5 separate regions of the Homo sapiens genome follow, and regions 1, 2, 4 and 5 are each linked to region 3. Evidence: promoter capture Hi-C in 16 types of primary human blood cells and fetal thymus (Javierre and others, 2016). All regions are on one chromosome and are shown on one strand. The core of a region is centred on a gene start or on the middle of the fragment in contact, and the rest is flanking DNA. Distances in the headings are between cores, read along the strand shown.

The links. Contacts are between HindIII fragments. The CHiCAGO score rates a contact against its expected background, and 5 or more counts as called.
Region 1: a contact is called between a fragment that was not itself captured here and the fragment with the promoter of UPF1 in region 3, in 7 of 17 cell types (fetal thymus, total CD4 T cells, naive CD8 T cells and 4 more). The highest score is 6.8, in fetal thymus.
Region 2: a fragment that was not itself captured here is called in contact with the fragment with the promoter of UPF1 in region 3 in 4 of 17 cell types (total B cells, naive CD8 T cells, naive CD4 T cells and 1 more); the score reaches 6.9 in total B cells.
Region 4: a fragment that was not itself captured here is called in contact with the fragment with the promoter of UPF1 in region 3 in 3 of 17 cell types (non-activated CD4 T cells, naive B cells and total CD4 T cells); the score reaches 6.0 in non-activated CD4 T cells.
Region 5: a contact is called between the fragment with the promoter of ELL here and the fragment with the promoter of UPF1 in region 3, in 11 of 17 cell types (naive CD8 T cells, naive B cells, non-activated CD4 T cells and 8 more). The highest score is 12.9, in naive CD8 T cells.

The regions. Positions count from the first base shown.
Region 1 is chr19:18,502,633-18,505,332 of GRCh38, reverse strand. The region is part of intron 1 of ELL (elongation factor for RNA polymerase II); the gene reads left to right. Among named protein-coding and RNA genes, the nearest start is that of ELL, 18 kb to the left of the region's middle. RefSeq lists an enhancer at 651-700. The HindIII fragment of the contact is 9,226 bases long and covers 1-2,700 here.
Region 2 is chr19:18,481,868-18,484,567 of GRCh38, reverse strand. The region is part of intron 1 of ELL (elongation factor for RNA polymerase II); the gene reads left to right. Among named protein-coding and RNA genes, the nearest start is that of ELL, 39 kb to the left of the region's middle. RefSeq lists enhancers at 1-449, 450-950. The HindIII fragment of the contact is 4,478 bases long and covers 1-2,700 here.
Region 3 is chr19:18,830,652-18,833,351 of GRCh38, reverse strand. It overlaps UPF1 (UPF1 RNA helicase and ATPase), which reads right to left and starts at 1,393. Exons shown (of 24, transcript NM_002911.4): 1 at 912-1,393. The coding sequence starts at 1,142. RefSeq lists silencers at 780-859, 870-959, 1,110-1,209, 1,330-1,589. The HindIII fragment of the contact is 13,345 bases long and covers 1-2,700 here.
Region 4 is chr19:18,544,701-18,547,400 of GRCh38, reverse strand. No RefSeq gene overlaps it. Among named protein-coding and RNA genes, the nearest start is that of FKBP8, 2.5 kb to the right of the region's middle. The HindIII fragment of the contact is 4,146 bases long and covers 1-2,700 here.
Region 5 is chr19:18,520,653-18,523,352 of GRCh38, reverse strand. It overlaps ELL (elongation factor for RNA polymerase II), which reads left to right and starts at 1,283. Exons shown (of 12, transcript NM_006532.4): 1 at 1,283-1,432. The coding sequence starts at 1,298. RefSeq lists enhancers at 790-1,119, 1,263-1,778, 1,779-2,294 and silencers at 1,510-1,819, 2,550-2,599. The HindIII fragment of the contact is 8,691 bases long and covers 1-2,700 here.

The DNA of each region.
Region 1 (2,700 bases), core at 23-2,522, 330 kb after region 3:
GAATTGAGTAGAGAAGAATAGCAAAAGCTATCTTCAGTCCTAACAAGAGCCTAACTAGTTGGGATTGCATTTGCTGTTGGGTGAGCTGTGGCAGATGCAGAAGAAAGCACACCACAGAGGAGAGGGGAGGGGAGGAGAGGATGGGAGAGGAGTGGGGGCTACGGGACAGTGGCTTGTGTTCCCCTGATGTCCTGGTATGTCACTGCCCTCTGGCACACAGAAGTTGCCCATCGTTCTCAGTCGCCTGAGGTTTGGCCATGATGGCAGGAGGGTGAGATGTCCTGAACCTTGACCTGCTGCTCCCACAGCCCTGGCAGCCCAGAATAGTCAAAGCCTGGGTTGTCTCCACAAGGCAAGAGTTTTTTCCTCTGCTGGAGCTGTGGGCTGAGAGCCTCCTGTGCGCAGGCATCACACATCCCCAGGCCAGGTGGCTCCTCGGGTGCTCAGGGCTGTGGGGGCTTTGTGTCCCTCAGGCCCTGTCCACTGGACAGGTGGTGGCAGGGCTCCGTGGAGAGTGTCCCAGAGTAAATGGGTTCTGGTATATGCAGTGTTTCTCATGACAGCCCATGGGGTGTGTTGGTGGGGGGAGATATAGCTCATGTGCCAGTGTCACTCTCGGGCCTTGGCAGGGATGCAGCTGGGAGAGTTCTGTTTATTTAAAGTCGAGCCTCAGGTTTTCTGCTGTGACTTATTAACCCGTTGATCCACCCTGTGGGCGGTGCCAGGCTCTTCTGAGGCCTGACAGGTGGGCCTAACCTCTGCTGACCAATGACAGAGAGCATCACTGCTCTGATGACCGGACCCAGGCTGCAGGTTCTGGAGTCTGTAGCCACTTCCCCTTCCTCCCAGGCAGAGATGAACGTGACAGGGATGAGATGTACATGGCAATTTCAGATGGGAGTTGAAGAATGCTGAGCTCTGTAGAAAATGTAGGGGAAATTTAGCAAAGCAAGCCACGCGTCATGGATTTCAATCAGGATGTGACTTGAGATGTGGGTAATCCCGAGAGTCACAGATTGCTTTGGAAAAACAGAGCAGGAGTGGCCTCTGTGCGTCAGTGAGCACACCCTTAGGTAGATGGCTGACAGATGCCCTTTGCCCACCTCCCCTCCTCCTCAGCCTCACCCCTCCAGCCTCTCTGTGCCGTCCCTGGCCTGTTGGCACAAGTGGCTGAGGAGGCCAAAATGAAGTGATGCATGCTTAGCAGAGGTGCCAGCACAGTTGACCCCTGCATCCGCCGTGACAGCCCGCAGATCCTCTGCACGCTGCAGCCACCAGGCGAGGCCTCCCTGGATGCCGAGGAGTCAGTGCTTCAGTGAGCCCCTTGGATCAGGCGGGGGGATGTGAGTGAGCGGGTTGTCCACATGGATAGGAGTGGGGTCAGACCTAGCGTCTGGCCAGAGTGTGTGTCCTTAACCTTGGCCAGGCAGCAGCCAGGCCCCCACGTGTGACTCCAGTTAGCCAGGTGCATTCTGAACGGGAGTGATGAGTGACAGTCCCGTGGGCCCTCATCCAGCCTGCAGCAGGGAAGGCTCCCTGAGGAGGGAAGCTCGGCAGGACCCAAGGAAGGGTGGTGTTTCTGAGCCCTAGGCGGGTGCTTGGGAACAGCCCATTCTCCACTCCCGCTGGCTCCAGGTGGCCAGAGTAACAGGTCCCGTCCCTTCCCACCACTGCTCAGACATCTCCTCACAGCCCCTGAGTGCTCAGCAGCCGTGGCTCTGCACGTACCCTGAGCTCTGGGTGTCTGGGGCCACATCAGCTCACTTGGTGAACTGTTACTAGATGAACATGTGGTGGGGCCGGGTGAGGAGGAACGTGTGTCCTGCAATAGCCTGTTCTGTCTGTTCCATCACCTCCAAGAGCCCACATCCTGCCTGGGATTCCCAGTACGGGCAGCTCAGTTCCTCAGAGCCTGGCCAGACGTGCCCCCCACTTGCTGGGGCTCCCTCGCTCCTATGGGTCTGCTTCACTCCCTTGCTGTTCTCCAGCTTTGCCAGTTGCCTTTTCCAGAAATAAGACAGAAAAACTCTGTCACCTTCTTTTCATCCCACTTATCACCCCAGGGTGGGGGTGCTCCCTCCCAGATGCCATAAAGATACCCGCGGCCCTGACTGCTGGGCGGGCGGTGCCACTGGACACTCTCCAGACCACGGATGCTTACAGGGATGTCCCTGCGCTGGGTGCCAGCCTGGCACAGTGCGAGTTCCCTTTTCTTTTTAAGCCAGGTTCCTGTTTTACCACATTAAACCAGCTGTAAAGTGCCACTTTATAAAATAAGCAAGTGATAGGGAGCCACTCTGGCAGGGCCCAGGGAGCCGAGCAGTGCCTCCCAGCCCTGTGCCTGTGTGTGGTGGGTGTGCAGCCACTGGAAGTGCCGAGCTGCCTGCCTGGAGCGCTGGCCTGCCCTGTTAATAACCGAAGCTCTGCTGGGCATTGGCACACCCGGCCAGGTGGCCCCGTGGTTTCCCAAGACAGGGGCTTTTGGATTCCGCATTGATGGCCCAAAACTCCTTCCCTAAGTTGTCTCAGAAGCAAAAACAGGAAGGTCATTGGGTTTCTTTGCAGAACACTAACCCATGCTGCCACCCCGTGTTCCCACTCCTCCTCCTGGCATCTGCAACATGACAAGTGGCAGGTGTCTGGTGTCCGTTGTCATTGGGCCCTCTCTCTCATTTAAACACCGTCTCTTCCTCCTCGGCT
Region 2 (2,700 bases), core at 104-2,603, 350 kb after region 3:
CCTGTGCTTAGGTGATCCTTCTGCCTCAGCACCTGAGTAGCTGGGACTGCAGGTGCGCATTACCACACCTGGCTAATTTTTAAATTTTTTATTTTTCTTTCTTGAGACTGAGTCTCACTCTGTTGCCCAGGCTGGAGTGCAGTGGTATGATCTTGGCTCACTGCAACCTCCCCCTCCCAGGTTCAAGCGATTTTCTTGCCTCAGCCTCCCGGGTAGCTGGAATTTCAGGCACCTGCCACCACGCCTGGCCAAAGTTTGTGTTTTTAGTAGAGATGGGGGTTTCACCACGTTGGCCAGGCTGGTCTCGAACTCTTGACTTCAAGTGATCCACCCACCTCGGCTTCCCAAAGTGCTGGGATTACAGGCGTGAGCCACCACAGCGTCTGGCTGCCAAACGGGATTCTGTGCCCATCACACTGGCACTTGCAGATTTGCTCTGTTTCAGACACTGCAGAGTGCGCTAGAGGGGACAGAGGGGCCTGACACTGTGGCCCAGGTGCCCATGGAGTGTACTTGTGCAGCAGGTGCCCACATACGACAGCGTCTTTCCCTGTTTGAAGAAAGGCAGATGCAAAAGGTGGAATAATAAGGGGGAAAGGCAAAGTTAAGGTGTTGGCAGGAGGGCTTGTGCCAGGCATGGGTTGCATGGCTCTGAGATGCACTGTCCTGGAAGCAGGCCTGGGCCATGCCTGGAGATTGACCCATGGAGGTGCAGGCAGGGTGGGCAGGGCAGGCAGGGTGCTTGTCCCTCCCTTGGAGGGAGACTTCTGTCTGTCTGATGAAGCAGGGCTCAGGGACATAGAAGCACTGTAACTTGAAGAATTGTGTAGTAAATGTTTGTCATATCCTGCTACCCTGGGATCATGTGAGGTTGGATAAGTTGTGAAATCTTCATGGGGACCCCAGGGCTCAGTTTTCCTGTGAGGTTGGGATGAGGTCTGCTGTGACCTCGGGCAGCCCTGTCCTCTCTCAGTACCTCATTTTCCTCAGTTGTAACAACCGGAACCCGATCCCATGCAGTTTAGGATGAGAGTGGGTTAGTGATGGAGGCTGGCCGTCTGTGGTACCACGAGTCCTTGCGTGTGATTTGGCTGTGATTTCTACGGACAGGGAGTCCAAGCAGCTCCCCCACCCCCAGCTATGACGCAGGAATGGACAGACATCTGAGGGGCTTCCCATGAGACACAGGCCACTTTCTGCTCACCTGCTGAGCGCCTTCTGGAAGAAGGACCTGGATAGTGTCCAAAAACCCTGCACTGCAACTGCCAGGTGGGCGGTGGCATCCGGGGAATATCCAGGGAGCATCTGTGGTCATGACCCAGGGTGCATGCAGACAAAGGAATCTGAGAGACCCTTCACTGGGGGCTGTGGCAGCCACGGGTGTAGGCAGGAGTTACCCAGAGCTGCTAGTTTGGGAGGGGAGAGGGGAGTTGGTAAAGAATGGCAGTTTGGAGGATTTTCCTAAAATAGAGCTATTTAAAAAAAAGATGGGAGTGTGATGGCTCACGCTTATAATCCCAGCACTTTGAGAAGTTGAGGTGAGAGGATCGCTTGAGCCCAGGAGTTTGAGACCAGCCTGGGCAACACAGGGAGACCCCCACCTCTACAAAAGAGTTAAAAAAACAACGTAGCTGGGCATGGTGGCACAGCTGCTTGGGGATAAGGTGGGAGGATTCTTGAGCCCAGGAGACTGTGGCTGCAGTGAGCTGTGATAGTGCCACTGCCCACTGCCTGGGCAACAGAGTGAGGCCCTGTCTCAAAACAACAGCAGCAACAACAACAACAACAACAACAACAACAACAAAAACCAAAAAGATGGGAGGAACTAAGACACAAAATCAAGACCCACCCATAAAAGAAAAAAATTGAAAAATTCCACTCCATCAAAATTAAGAACTTCTGTATTTTGAGAGATACTGTTAAGAGAATGGAAAGGCAGTCCAGGCGCAGTGGCTCACGCCTGTAATCCCAGCATTTTGGGAGGCCGAAATCACTTGAGGTCAGGAGTTTGAGATCAGCCTGGCCAACATGGTGAAAACCCGTCTCGACTAAAAATACAAAAAAATAAGCTGGGTGTGGTAGTACGCACCTGTAGTCCCAGCTACTTGGGAGGCAGAGGCAGAGGCAGAGGCAGAGGCAGGAGAATTGCTTCAACCCAGGAGGCGGAGGTTGCAGTGAGCTGAGATCACACCACTGCACTTCAGCCTAGGTGACAGGGCGAGACCCTGTTTAAAAAAAAAAAAAAAAAAAAAAAAAAAAGGAATGAAAAGACAAGCCATGGACTAGGAGTAAAATGTAAAATTTATCTGATAAAGCTCTTGTATATAAAAAAAAAAACCTCAAAACTTAGTAAGAAAATGACCCAATTTTTAAAAATGGGATAAAGATTTGTACAGCTTCACCACTGAAGCTAGAAGAATGGCACATTAGCCTGTAAAAAGATGCTCAACATGCTTAATCAGCAGGGAAACCCAAACATGAACCTCCACGAGCTGTCACTGCACCACACACCTACCAGAATGGCTGACATTTTAAATAAGCTGACAGCACTAAATGTTGACGTGGATGGGGAGCAACAGGAACTCTCATTCGCTGCCGGCGGCAGTACAAAATGGTACAGCAACTTTGGGAGCCAGCCTGGCAGTTTCATATTAAATTAAATGTACACCTACTCTGTAACCCAGCAGTCGGGCTCCTGGG
Region 3 (2,700 bases), core at 144-2,643:
AAGAGTTGTGAAGTTATGTAACAGGTCGGTTTCAGCAACAGGCGATGCAAGAAAAAACAAAATACAACCTGCTTCCTGAATGATCTTAATAGCCAGCCAATATGTGCTCCTCCATGGGAGGCAAAAATTCTTCTCTGCCTCAACCTTCCGCTGGCCAGCGCCCCTATGCATGGGGAAAGTCGAACCTACGCTCCGTGACTGTGAAAGGTGGGGTGCCCAGATGGCTGCGACCACAGATGGGAGGTGGGACAGGCGGCCAGACCCACCAATGGGGAGACCGGGCAGGACCCCCGGACCAGGCCAGAGACAGGATTAGGGCAGGTCACCCTGGATACTCCCGGAAAGGGACTGAGGGAAGTCACTCAAGCTCCGGCCTGAGCAAGACCCGGCCCAGGTCGTAGGAGAACTCGAGGCAGAATACCGAGACCTGCGAAAGAGGGACCAGGGCAGGTCACCCTAGCCCGGATGGAATGGAAGAACTCAGATAAGTCAGGGGGCAGGTTACTCCAGGCCAGACTGATTGTGGGACACAAGGCAGGTCAGCCCGGGCCCAGGAGGGGGAGCAAACCCAGCTGGCGTAAAGGAACAGGGTCAGGTTAGCTCGGTCCCGAACGAAGTGGAGGACTCGAGGCAAGTCTGCCCGGCCCAGGAGTTGGGGGCCGAAGGAACTCAGCCAGGTCGCGGCCGGAGCGGGGGACCCGGGGCAGATCAGGCCAGGCCCGGGCAGATTGCAGGACCTGGGGCAGGTAAGCTCAGGCCGAGCCAGAGTAGGGGACCCGGGGCAGATCGCCCCAGGCCCGGCCGCGATGGGGGACTCCGGCCAAACACAGGCCGGGCCCGAGGCGAGTTCGGGGCAGGTCTCAGGCGCCGAGGCCGGGCCCGGGCTTCCGGCACCGCCATGTGCCGCTCACCTGCGCGTCGAGCTGTCCCGCCGCAGCGCCCGCGCCCGCGCCGCCCGGGCCTCCCGCGCCGCCACCGCCCGGGCCGCCGGGGCCGCCGGGGGGCGTCTGCGTCTGGCTAGGAAGAGTAAAGTCGGTGAACTCGAACTCGGAGCCCTGTGTGTCGGCGCCAAGCAGCTCGGCCTCCTCCGTGTCCAGGAAAGTGAGAGTCTGCGAGCTGGGCCCGTACGCCTCCACGCTCATGGTGCCTCCGGGTAGGGCCCTCGGGCCGGTTCCGCGCTGCACTCGAGCCCGCCGCCGCGCTGAGGCCTAGGCCGCAGGCCTCGGGTCGCTGCCGCTGTCGCCCCCGCGCGCCCGGAAAGGACCAAACCGCGCGCCCCGGCGCCAGCCGGACCGAGAGGTAACAGTGCCGAGCCGCCGCCGCTGCCGCCGAGCCCCTCCGCGCCTCAGCTCCCCTCGAAGCCGCCAGCCGCTCGCAGCCTAGAGCAGGAACTGCCGCCACCGCCGCCGTCGCCGTGCGCGTGCGCGAGCCCGACGCCGGCGGAAGCGCGCGCGCTCTTCGCGGGCGCCTGGTGCCCAGCAGGAAGACGGGACGCGCACCGCGCACGCGCAGGGGGTGGGGCTTTCAACCGCCGCTGCGGCGGCAGCTCGAGGACTTGGTCCCGCCCCAACTGCTAATTGGGGACGCCCGGGCGGCTGGCGGTGTGGACTTGGTGGTCTGCACCTGTGGTCGCTGCGACGGTGTTTCGGTTTAATTGAGCGCTAGCCGAATACCCTACATAGGTGGTCTCGGAACGCCCAACTGGAGAGACTGGGCAGGGACGGTGCGCTCCCACTCCTGGCAAAAGCTGCTTGGAACTCAGTTTCCCCATCTGTAAAATGGAGGGTGCCTCGCACATAGTAGATGCTCCCTGTGCATTGGTTTAAAAAGGGAGTGGGGCTCGGCGCGGTGGTCACACCTGTAATCCCAACACTCAGAGGCTGAGGCGGGAGAACTGCTTGAACTCAGGAGTTCGAGACCAGCCTGGGAGACAGAGTGAGACTCCATCTCTACAAAAAATATAAAAATTAGGCCGAGCGCGGTGGCTCACGCCTGTAATCCCAGCACTTTGGGAGGCCGAGGCGGGTGGATCATGACGTCAGGAGATCGAGACCATCCTGGCTAACATGGTGAAACCCCGTCTCCACTAAAAATACAAAAAATTAGCCAGGCGTGGTGGCACGAGCCTGTAGTCCCAGCTACTCAGGAGGCTGAGGCAGGAGAATCGCTTGAACCCAGGAGGCGGAGGTTGCAGTGAGCCAAGATTGTGCCACTGCACACCAGCCTGGGCAACAGAGTGAGACTCTGTCTCAAAAAAAAAAAAAAAAATTAGCTAAGCGTGGTGGTTCGCACCTGTAGTCCCAGCTACTAGGGAGGCTGAGGTGGGAGGATCGCTTGACCCTGGGAAGTTGAGGCTGCAGTAAGCCGAGATTGCACCACTGCACTCCAGCCTGGGTGACAGAGCGAGACCCTGTCTCAAAAATAAGTAAAAATAAATGAATGGGGATAGTCTTACGTACTGGGCCTGGCACTTGGAAATGATGGTTGCTGCTGTTCCTGATGCCTCTGCCACTGTTATTATACCATTACTATTTTTGCTATGATTATTATTTAGTGGACGTATACAGCAAAACAACTGGAAGCACATGGTCTGTGGTGGACTCTAGACCTGACCACTTACCAGCTGTGTGAAATTATACAAGTGACTTAACCTCTCTGAGCCTAGGGTTTCTGTTGCCATTAAGGTGGCATAGGAAGCCT
Region 4 (2,700 bases), core at 114-2,613, 290 kb after region 3:
CAAAAAAAAAAAAAAGGGAAAAGCAAATATAAGTAAAATGTTTGCCTGCAAATATCTGTTCAATGAGTGCCAGCCATTATTATTATTGTTGGTGGTGTTATTTTATAGTTTATTTTAGTAGCTTATTAATTTATAATAATAATTATTACTATTATTTTAGAAACAGCGTCTTGCCTTGTTGCTCAGGCTGCAGTGCAGAACTTTGATCATAACTCACTGTAGCCTCGACCTCCTGGGTTCAAGGGATCCCTCCCACCTCAGCCTCCCATTTAGCTGGGACTACATTTTTAAATTTTCTGTAGAGGCCAGGTGTGACGGCTCATGCCTGTAATCCCAGCACTTTGGGAGGCCAAGGCAGGTGGATCACAAGGTCAGAAGTTCAAGACCAGCCTGGCCAACATAGCGGAACCCCCCCATCTCTACTAAAAATACAAAAAATTAGGCAGGCATGGTGGCAGGCGCCTGTAATCCCAGCTACTAGGAAGGCTGAGGCAGGAGAATTGCTTCAACCTGGGAGGCAGAGGTTGCAGTGAGCCGAGATCACACCATTGCACTCCAGCCTCACTAGACTCTGTCTCAAAAAAAAAATTAGTCATGTGTCATGGCAGGCGCCTGTAATCCCAGCTACTTAGGAGGCTGAGGCAGGAGAATCGCTTGAACCTGGGAGTCAGAGGTTGCAGTGAGCCCAGATCGTTCCACTGCACTCTACGTGGGAGACAGAGGGAGACTGTGTCTCCAAATTAATTAATTAATATTCTGTAGAGGCAGGCTCTCACTACGTTACCCAGGCTTAGGTTGCCCAGGCTGGAGTACGGTGACGTGATCTTGGCTCGCTGCAACATCTGCCTCCCGGGTTCAAGCGATTCTCCTGCCTCAACCTCCCAAGTAGCTGGGATTACAGGCATGTGCCACCGCACCCGGCTAATTTCTGTATTTTTCGCAGAGACAGGTTTCACCATGTTGGCCAGGCTGGTCTCGAACTCTTGACTTCAGGTGAACCATCTGCCTCAGCCTCCCAAAGGCTGTTTTTGAGACTGGGTCTTGCTCACTGCAACTTCCACCCCTGGGGTTCAAGCAGTCCTCATGCCTCAGCCACCCCAGTATCTGAGATTACAGGCATGCACCACCATACCCGGCTAATTTTTGTATTTTTAGTAGAGACGGGGTTTCACCATGTTGGCCAGGCTGGTCTAGATTTCCTGACCTCAGGTGATCCACCCACCTCGGCCTCCCAAAGTGCTGGGATTACTGGCATAAGCCACCGCACCCAGCCCTCCAGGTGATTTCTTACATAGCTCTGCTATGCTACCACCTTTAACCTCCCTTCCTTCCTCAGTGATTTCCGTGAGACCCCACCACTACCTTTTGTGGCAGGCACTGTGCAAGCCTCAGAGCTATAACAATGAGAAAGAACAAAGCCTTCCCAGACTTTGGGGCTCTGCCAGTGTAGAGGGCAAGGCAGAGGTAAATCAAAGCAGTGGCTCACGCCTATAATCCCAACAGTTTGGGAGGCCAAAGTGGGAGGATTGCTTGAGCCCAGGAGTTCGAGACCAGCCTGGGCAACATGGGGAAACCCCATCTCTACAAAAAATATAAACATTGGGCCGGGCGCGATGGCTCACGCCTGTAATTTCAGCACTTTGGGAGGCCGAGGTGGGCAGATCACAAGGTCAGGAGATCGAGACTATCCTGGCTAACACGATGAAACGCTGACTCTACTAAAAATACAAAAAATTAGTCGGGCATGGTGGCAGGCGCCTGTAGTCCCAGCTACTTGGGAGGCTGAGGCAGGAGAATGGTGTGAACCTGGGAGGCGGAGCTTGCAGTGAGCCGAGATTGCGCCACTGCACTCTAGCCTGGGCTACACAGCGAGACTCTGTCTCAAAAAAAAAAAAAAAAATTAGCTGGACATGATGGTGCACCTGTGGGCCCAGCTACTCAGGAGGCTGAGGCAGGAGGATTGCGTGAGCCCAGGAGATAGACATGGTTGCAGTGATCTGAGATCGTGCCACTGCACTCCAGCCTGGGTTTCAAAGTAAGACCCTATCTCAAAAAAAAAAAGGCAGAGATATAAGTAAACTAGTTTGGGAAGCCGAGGCAGGCAGATCATGAGGTCAGGAGTTCCAGACCATCCTGGCCAACATGGTGAAACCCTGTCTCTACTAAAAATATACAAATTAGCTGGGCATGGTGGCGGGTGCCTGTAGTCCCAGCTACTCAGGAGGCTGAAGCAGGAGAATCGTTGGAACTTAGGAGGTGGATGTTGCAGTGAGCCGAGATCGCGCCACTGCACTCCAGCCTGGCGACAGAGAGAGACTCTGTCTCAAAAAAAAAAGAGAAAGAAAAAAAAAAAAAAGGCCAGGCACGATGGCTCATGCCTGTAATCTTTGGTACATCGAGGTGGGCGGATCACGTGAGGTCGGGAGTTTGAGACCAGCCTGACCAACATGAAGAAATCCCGTGTCTACTAAAAATACAAAGTTAGCCAGGCATGGTGGTGCATGCCTCTACTCCCAGCTACTTGGAAGGCTGAGGCAGGAGAATCGCTTGAACCTGGGAGGCAGCGGTTGCGGTGAGCTGAGATTGCGCCATTGCACTCCAGCTTGGGCAACAAGAGTGAAACTTCTTCTCAAAAAACAAAAACAAACAAACAAACAAAAAACCCAAGTAAACTAGTTATGAAGTGGACGTTCATCAACT
Region 5 (2,700 bases), core at 34-2,533, 310 kb after region 3:
GGGCAAGGAAATCGAAACTCTGTCTAAAAACAAACAAACAAACAAAAACTGGGGGAGGTGGCTCACGCCTGTAATCCTAGCACTTTGGGAGGGCGAGGCGCGCGGATCACCTGAGGTCAGGAGTTCAAGACCAGCCTGGTCAACATGGTGAAACCCCATCTCTACTAAAATACAAAAATTAGCTGGGCATGATGGCGGGCGCCTGTAATCCCAGCTACTCGAGAGGCTGAGACAGGAGAATCGCTTGAATTCAGGAGACGATGGTTGCATTGAGCCGAGATAGCGCCACTGTTCTCCAGTCTGGGCTGATGAGCAAGACTCCGTCTCAAAAAAAAAAAAAAAGAAAAGAAAAGAAAATGGAAGTCTGGGCTTGGTGGCTCACTCCTGTAATCCTAGCATTTCAGCAGACCCAGACAAGGAGGATCAGTTTGAGTTCAGGAGGTCGAGGGTGCAGTGAGCCATGATGGCGCCATTGCACTCCAGCCTGGGCAACACAGCAAGACCCCTCAAAAAAAAATTAAAATAGGAAAATGAAGCTGGACTGCACCATCGCTCAGGGACTGTGGGGATGTAGGATTTTATCCTATTAAAAGTACTCATCTCATAAGAAAAAGTTTACCAGCTCCTCTTCCACCTACCGGTCCAGCACCTTCCCTGGGTGGAAGTCCCATCCACCCCGCCTAAGGGATGCCTTATGTGTCCAACCCAGCGTCCAACGCGCGCGCTCCGTTTACATAGCCACGCCCACCCTCCCGGCCCGCGGCGGGGCCTACCCACCCACGTGTTTCGAGCCGGCTCCGCCCCTCCACGCCCTCTCTGCGGCTTTCCACAGAAGCCAAAGACGGAAGACTGTAGAGATCTCATAAATAATGCATCACGTCAGCGGCTGTAGGGGCGGGGCTTTGACGCGCCTGGCTGGCTGAGTCAGGGTTATGTATAATACTATGGAGGCGGGGCCTGGAGGGGTGCGCGTGTTGAGGCGGAGTTCGTTCACGGAAGTGGCCACCCCTAGGGCCTGAAGAGGCGGGGCCATAAGTGCCTTATGAATATGCAACAACTTGGGGCGTTGACTGTGGGCCTTGTGGGGCCCTCATGGGGCGTGGCCAGGCGCGTCTCCTGAATAATGTAGTGCGCTGCCTGCCGGTGTGGCGGCGACTGTTGGTTTGGTCGGACTCGGGGGGCGTGGCCAGCCGCGTCTCATGAATAATGCAGCGCGTCAGCGGGCGGCGGGGCGGGGCGTGGCCGGCGTGGCGGCGCTGGAGCCGGGAAGGGGGCGCGGGGGAGAGATGGTCGCAAGATGGCGGCGCTGAAGGAGGATAGGAGCTACGGGCTGTCGTGCGGGCGGGTTAGCGACGGCAGCAAGGTGTCGGTGTTCCACGTGAAGCTCACCGACAGTGCCCTGAGGGCCTTCGAGAGCTACCGCGCCAGACAGGTGAGTGGCATGGCGCCCGGCGCGCCAGTGGGGAACGTCCGGACGCGGGCCGGCCTCGCGCTCCCCTCACTGAGGCGTCCGGGCTCGGAGACGCTAGGTCTGTGGTGCTGCTCGCGGGTCCCTGGGCCGGCGGGGCGCGGAGTGGGCGCCAGTCCGGCCTGGAGCGCTGAGAACCGCGTTCCTTCTCAGCACTAGGAGGCAATACAGGCGGGTGGCCCGGGGCTGCTGAGGGGCCCAGACTCGCGCGCCGGGCCCGGGGGGCGTCGGTGTCGGCACCTGGCGGCGTCCGGGGCCTTTCTGGCCTGCTGGGCACCTGGGCAGGGTCCAGTTTGCGCACCTGGCGGCGGGGCGAGGAGGCGGTGGGCCGCACGGTCCCGGCACCGTGATAGGGGGAAGCTGGGGGCTTTTCCATCTGGGGCCGGGGCAGCGCCGTTGGTGGGGGTGACTGTGTCTGTCCTCCTGGGAAGCAGCGATCGTCTGGGTGCCCGGCAGGGGGTGGTCAGCGAGGCACTTGTGGGGGTCTGTTCTGTCTGGGTGGAAGGCTTTGCAGCTGGGGGCTGGCTTTGACGCGTTCCGATGAAGCCACTCAGGTTGGGCCACTTTGGTTCTTGGGACGGGGAGTTTGGGCAGAAACTGACAGCTTGTCCCAGCTTTCTGCTCCCCTTACCCCCAGGTGACCCTCTCTCTCCGGAGAGAGGTTCCTTGGAGAGTGGAAGTGTTGGGGGCGGCTGTGATGTTATCCTCAGGGCACATGTAGGGGATCCCTGCCACCCAGGAGGAAGCTCTGGCTACCACATCTGGCCGCTGACTCTGGAACTTCTCAGAGGCCGATTTGGGCCCATCTGGGGGAAGTTTGAGGCGTTTCGGTTCTGCCACCTGGCTGGTGGTGGGGAGGGGAGGCTGCTGTGTATGTTCTCTTGGGCCTGACTTTGGGGCGCATCTGGGGCCGTGGTCAGAAACCTGCCTTTTTCATTTCTGTTTGTGTCATGGCCCCCCCTCCCCCCGTCTGTGCTGGGTCAGAAGTTGCAGATGACCAGTGGTCAGGTCCCGAGGGGAAGTGGTTTAGGAACCTTGTAACTCCTTTTCTGGAAATTGGGGGCTTCATTGCCCTAAAGGGAGTGGGGGTGGGTCTAGTCTCGGGCTCAGAGAGCCCTGCTCCCTGCGTGTGTGTGTGTTTGTGTATACTGTTGATGGTGGGGGTGGGGGGGTGCCGCGGGCGGGGGAGGAGGGAGACTAACTAGGAAGGAATGTGGCTTTCTTCCTGCCCC